Regions from separate parts of the Homo sapiens genome. Here region 2 is linked to region 1. Evidence: promoter capture Hi-C in 16 types of primary human blood cells and fetal thymus (Javierre and others, 2016). All regions are on one chromosome and are shown on one strand. Each heading gives the region's core, a stretch centred on a gene start or on the middle of the fragment in contact. The rest is flanking DNA. Distances are from core to core; before and after follow the strand shown. Region 1 holds the start of TEDDM1 (transmembrane epididymal protein 1). Region 2 overlaps CACNA1E (calcium voltage-gated channel subunit alpha1 E).

Region 1 (3,277 bases), core at 220-2,719:
AAAAATAAAAAATAATGAATAAATAAATAAATGGGGCCAGGTACGGTGGCTCACGCCTGTAATCCCAGTACTTTGGGAGGCTGAGGTGGGTGGATCACTTGAGCCCAGGAGTTTGAGACCCAGCATGGACAATGTAGTGAGACCTCATCTCTACAAAAAATAGCTGGATGTGGTGGCTCATGTCTGTTGTCCCAGCTACTCAGCAGCTGAGGCAGGAGGATTGATTGAGCTCAGGAGGTTGAGGCTGCAGTGAGCCGTCATCAAGCCACTGCACTGCAACCTGGGCAACAAAGCGAGACACTGTCTAAAAATAAAAATAAAAATAGAAATAAAAATAAATAAATGAAGACTCTTGCCTTGGATGCAACCCCTCATATGCAGCTGGCTGCTACCTAGTGCTTAGAACTCTTTCTGCCTATATGTGTTAGACACATAGTAAATGATAATTAAAGAGAGAATAAAGTTGAGGACCTAATTCACATTAAAATATAAGCAGTTTGTTGGATCTACTTATCTCAACATATCTGCATTTTAATAAAAAATTATACCTTAACATTCCAAAATTGATCTCAAAAGGTGACATTTTACATTCATCTACTGTTCTTTGGAAAGATAATTTGGGGCAATTGAGCTGCTTTCTTTGTGATCCCCAAAAACTGTTACAGAAGAATGAAGAGGACAAGAGCTCAGTATCTATATATATGAGCACACATCCAAACGTTTATAAACTTTTATGTCTAGGAAGAATGTATTTGCTCTCAGTATATGACCCAACATATGAGTAAGGAGTCTTTTTTTTTTTTGAGACAGTCTCGCTCTGTCACCCAGGCTGGAGTGTAGTGAGATGATCCTGGCCCACTGCAACATCCGCCTCCCGGGTTCAAGTAATTCTCCTGCCTCAGCCTTCCAAGTGGCTGGGATTACAGGCACTCTTTACCATGCCCAGCTAGTTTTTGTATTTTTAGTGGAGATGGGATTTCACCATGTTGGCCAGGCTGATCTCGAACTCCTGACCTCGAGATCTGCCTTGGCCTCCCAAAGTGCTGGGATTACAGGCTTGAGCCACCATGCCTGTCCGAGTAAGGAGTCTTAAAGGATGCATTAAGGTTTGTGAGTAACCCGGGTCTTCTCTGGATAATCTCCGTGCTCAGGCACCTCTCTTTTTCTACTCCGAGCATTGAACAGGGGCAGAAGGAAGCAAGCCATGAGAGAGAGGGACAAGTGTAACCAGAAGGTCCTCAAGGGTCCAAAAGCAGAGCTCCTGAGAGCACAAATTCCCACAGGTGCATACTAAAAAATATTTATGTTTCTACTTTGGCAGAACTCAATTAGTTCCCAGTGTACTGGAATGAAATGGAACAATGAGACCCACCTCACTAAAAACCTAGGCTCCTGTCCAGAACTTTCCAGTCTGTGAGAGAGCAGTGGGCAGAAGGAGATGATAAAAGTAGGTAGAACTTAGCTCTGTATATATAGGCCCAGAACTCGAGAGGCCTGTGAGGGAGAGGAGAGCAGAGAGGTCCTGAGTATTGCTCTTCACGCTTCAGTCGGACAGGCCTGTATTCCATGGGAAAGTCCATTGGCCATTTTTAACTGGGGCTATTTCTTTTCTCTTATGGACTATATCAGGCCACAGTGGTCTCCAAGGGCATGATACTCAAAGGTTGTCTCCTGTATCCTTTGTGCTCTCCCAGGAATAAGCAAAGATGTGCCAGGCTGTGGAAAATAGCCTATGGAGGATTACTAAAGATAGTGACTGGCTCCCTCTTAACATTTTATGTGGTTCTCTGTCTTGATGGCGGGATGGTGCTCATGAGGAAGCAAGTGCCATCAAGGTTCATGTACCCCAAAGAGTGGCAGCACCTCACCATGTTCATCCTCCTCACTCTTAATGGCTGTGTGGACTTCATGAGCAAGAATGTGCTGCCTCAGAGGTGTGTGGGCCTAGAAAAAGGTACCCTGGTCCTGATCATCTACGAGCTCCTGCTGCTGATGGTGTCACATGTTAAAGATTCAGAAGGGGTGGAGCTGCACGTTTATTCTCTGCTCATCTTGGTGGTGTTCCTGCTGTTGCTGGTGTTGACTGCAGAGCTGTGGGCTCCCAACATGTGTCATCTCCAGCTGATGGAGACCTTTCTGATTCTGATGATGGGCTCCTGGCTGATGCAGGCAGGCTTTATTCTATACAGACCCGTCTCTGGCTACCCATGGCAGGACGATGACATCAGTGACATCATGTTTGTCACCACCTTCTTCTGCTGGCATGTGATGATCAATGCCTCATTCCTGTTGGGAATCTATGGCTTCTCTTCCTTTTGGTATCATTGTTTCAGACCCAGCTTGAAGCTGACTGGGCCCAAAGAAGCTCCATATTATGCAAGCACTCCAGGACCCCTCTACAAGTTGCTACAGGAAGTGGAGCAGTCAGAGAAAGAGGACCAGGCTCTCCTCCTTCCAAAGAGCTCCCCCTGAGACAGGGCCTACAGTGGCTGGCACATCGTCCACCTCATCTTCCTCCTGTTGGCTCCTCAGCCACGAGCATGGTACCCTCCTTGGTAAAGGTAATGGCCTTGAAGGCTAGCAGTTGGTCCCGTCTGCTGGTTCATTTTCTTTTCTTCTCTTTTCTTTTTTTTTTTTTTTGAGACAGAGTCTCGCTCTGTTGCCCAGCCTGGAGTGCAATGGCACAATCTCAGCTCAGTGCAACCTCCGCCTCCCGAGTTCAAGCGATTCTCCTGCCTCAGCCTCCCGAGTAGCTGCAATTACAGGAGCCTGCCACCATGCCCGTGCTGGTGCATTTTCTGTCCCTGAGCCTCTAATTACTGAGAAGATAAGGGGAGAGGGATTGAGAAAGAGACGCTGATGGGATTTGCGGGAGGGAGGGAAAAGGACGAGGAGAACACTTCTTCTTAGTGTGCAAGAAAAGCCACTGGGGGAAGAGAATGCAACAAAAGGAAGAGCTGTGAAGGGAGGAGAACAGAGTCTAGCAGTTATGCTGTCATTAGCGTCATCAGGCACAAGGGATTGCCTTTTACCTGAGGGAATAAAGACTTCTCACAACTCAAAACTGGACCCATTCAAATCTCATCTTGATAAAGAAAAGTGGGTACTTTACGTGCTCACCAAAGTGGTGCCACCATGTGGAAATAGCATGATAGAATTTATAATTAATTCATACAGGCTGAAATTATGCTCGCTTTGCCTCCTTCTCTCTCCGCAGCTTTCAAGAATTGGCTTCATTTCAAACTTTACATATAAAGTGAGACTTTTTAAATACTTA
Region 2 (3,277 bases), core at 233-2,732, 910 kb after region 1:
GAGTTAACCTCTCCACACCTTAATCCTTCTAACTATGAAAGACAGAAAACAAGAATGCCTATCTCTGTAGGATTGTCATGAAGAATCAATGCAATAACTCATGGGCAGCACTTAGCACAGTATTCTGACACATAGTAAATGTTCAATAAGTGTTATATATTTATAAATTCTATCAACATTAACACTAATACTAATACCTAATATGTTTGCAAAGGGCTTTCATACACATTAGCCAATGCTAACCTCACAACAGTCTTATAAGGCAGGCAAAGCAGGGAAAGTGACCTCCACCTCACATCTGAAGACACTGAGGCTCAGGGAGGTGATGAAACCAATGCAAGGTCACGTAAACATTATCTGGCAGCACTCAGGTTAGAAACTTGGTAAGAGCCAGGAGGAAGTAGGACAGCATTGTTGGAAAGAGAAAACATAGCTGCAGAAGTTTAATGTTTATGTATCTGAAATTAACCATATACTAATAACCAAGATTTATTCACAGCTTACTATTTGCCAAACATTGTTCCAAGCACTTTGCATGTATTATCTCATCTGACCTTCACAAAAATCCTATGATACACCCCAGAAGCAAATTACTATCTCTGTTTTACATTTGAAAAATCCAAGGCACTGCAAGGGTAAGCAGGTTGCCTGAGGCACACAGCTATAAAGTGACAGAGGTGATACTGAGATTTGAATCCAGAGGTCATTTTTAACAACGACCCCCTAATACCCTAAAGCTTCCATGCAGAGACTGGTAAATCCTGAACTCTAAGGTGAAGCTTTCATCAACTGGGCATTGGACTAGATGACATCTAATATCCCTTCAACTCCTGAGATCTAGGACACAACACTTTTATTGTCTAAGAAAGAAATAAAATATTGTCTGAGTCTCTGAAAATGATACCTAAAGTGGACTTTGGAGAAACCAAGATGCTACCTCCTGCTTAAAATAGACATGAAGTAGTCATGAAAGTGTGTACTGATTTCAGTAAAGCATGTGACAAGAATATCGCGTACAATATTTTTACAGACAAAATACAGAAATGTCAGTAGGCTAAAGCACAGTTCAGAATACTTGAGAAAAGCTGAACGGTCAACGCACACTGACTAATACACTGATGATAAGCAGAAAGAGGGTCCCTGATTCTAAATATATTTTTTATCAATTACTCAAATGAAAGCATTAAGTATTTGCTTATAAATCTGCAGATGACATAGCACTTAGGGTGGGGAGCTCACTCATGAAACAGCAAAGTCCATAGACAGTGCGGTGTAGAAATCACTTAAACTTTGGATTCGGACCACTTGTTCAAGCTCACCGGTGGTGACCTTGGGCAAGTGATTTAATCTTCTTTAGCTTCAGCTTCCCCATATTTAAAATGTGGATAATACACTTGTTTGAAGTAGAGCCTGAAATTTGGTAGATGCTCAATGAATGTTAGTTCTTTGTTCTCAGTTGAAAAGGATCTCTGCAGGATAAACATTGGAGCAAAAGCAAGGAGATAAAATATACTTGATATAAACATAGAGTCCTGAATCTAGATTCAAAAATTAAACTGAATGAGAACAGAGTGAGAGAAAACTAACTCTGTCATCAATTCATATAAAAAAAAAGATTCAGAGATTTTAGCTGACTATCTCAAGTCAGAAACGGAATGCCACTTCTTTAAAAAAAAAAAAAAACACCACTTTAAAAAGTATTTTAATTCAAACTAATGTGTTAAATGCTGATGTTAATAAGCATTGCCTTATTATCTGGTAATTAGATAACGTCCCCCCTCCCTTGCAGGGATTTTAAACCAATACTAAAATTATGTGGTATGTGATACAACAAAGTAATAAATAAAGTGCCCTATGAGAGCCCAAAGGAGGAAGCTGGTCTTATTCGGCCAAGAGAAATCAAGGAAGGCTTCACAGAGGAAGTGACCTCTGAGTACAATCTTAAAGCCAGACTCATTCTAGGTGGAAAAGCAGCAAGTGCAAAGGCACGGAGGCCTGGAAGAGGATGGTGCCTTCAGGGATCAGCAGCCACTGAAGCAGCTGGAGAGACAGTGATTACAGTGGTCAAGGAAAGCTGGCGCAATGTGCAGAGTGGCTCATGAGAAGCCCTGCATACCAAGCCAAGGAGACCCTGCCCAGTTACAAGGCTAACAAATGACAGAACCAAAGGGGAGCTTAAGCTTTCTGACTCATCATGTATTCCCTCTGCTTGTGCCATCCTGTACAGTAGCCACTAGCCATATGTGGCTATTTAAACTTAACTAAAATTAAGTCAGTAAAATTTAAAATTTAGTTCTCAGTCGCATTAGCCACATATCAAGTCCTTAAGGGCCACATGTGCCAAGAGCCATGTCTATCATCACCAAAAATCCACCAACTGTGCTGTTCAATGCCATAGTATTGTCAAGTGAAAGGAAGTAGACTGAGTCTATATTGTTTTACAAAACAGAAAACAGGAAGGGAAAGAACAAATGGAAGCTATAAGGAGGAATATTTCCACTTCCTATATCTTAAGTTTTTTAACAACAGAAGAGCACCCTGTCACTGGAGGTATTCCAGCTTGACAGTCGTCTTTCACAGTGATGTAGAAAGAGTTTCTGTATTGAATTCATGCCCTTTGGTTAGAATGTTTGTGTTCTTTCATAGCAGCCTGGCTGACAGCCCAGTGCAACCGTATCTCTCTAGTTCCTTCATATAAAGTTCCTGTCGTACTTGCTCATAAAGGCTTTGATATTTGGTTGAGAATCACTACTCCTGATAGCCCAGCATCCCAACATCCCAAATTGTGGGAATTTTTTAACATGATAGATGTTTTTAAATTGTGATTCATAGACCTCTAAAATTGAATGCAAAATTGTATGTGTATTTTTCAGGAGAGACAGGTCTATAGCATCAACCAGATGTCAGTAGGATTTGTGATCCCAGTATAGAAAGCAAATGAACAAACACTGTACTAGAGGGACTTAATGGTCCCAACACTCCAAAAAGAGTCATCTAGATGCCATCTAGACACTTACTGAGGTCATCTAGACACTTACTCAGGTCACTACTCAGACATTTATTCAGGTCATACTCTGAAGTTCCATAGAGTTTCAAACTGACCCTGAAGAACCTAAAGACCATCACCCTACAACAGAATCATTTTAGAGCTCAACATCTCCTGACCTTCAGGAAGGAGGGAAGTGGGAGTAAAAAAGAGCAGGAAAATAAGCCCAAGGCATAAAAGTTGGATAACTCAGAGTCAGGTTGGGGAAGGTATCATCTGACAACCTCTTGC

What was found. Contacts are between HindIII fragments. The CHiCAGO score rates a contact against its expected background, and 5 or more counts as called.
Region 2: a contact is called between a fragment that was not itself captured here and the fragment with the promoter of TEDDM1 in region 1, in 1 of 17 cell types (naive CD8 T cells). The highest score is 5.2, in naive CD8 T cells.

The regions. Positions count from the first base shown.
Region 1 is chr1:182,398,859-182,402,135 of GRCh38, reverse strand. TEDDM1 (transmembrane epididymal protein 1) reads left to right here and starts at 1,469. Exons shown (of 1, transcript NM_172000.4): 1 at 1,469-3,277. The coding sequence starts at 1,651. The coding sequence ends at 2,472. The HindIII fragment of the contact is 8,350 bases long and covers 1-3,277 here.
Region 2 is chr1:181,492,723-181,495,999 of GRCh38, reverse strand. All of the region lies in intron 1 of CACNA1E (calcium voltage-gated channel subunit alpha1 E), which reads right to left. Among named protein-coding and RNA genes, the nearest start is that of CACNA1E, 11 kb to the right of the region's middle. The HindIII fragment of the contact is 1,401 bases long and covers 782-2,182 here.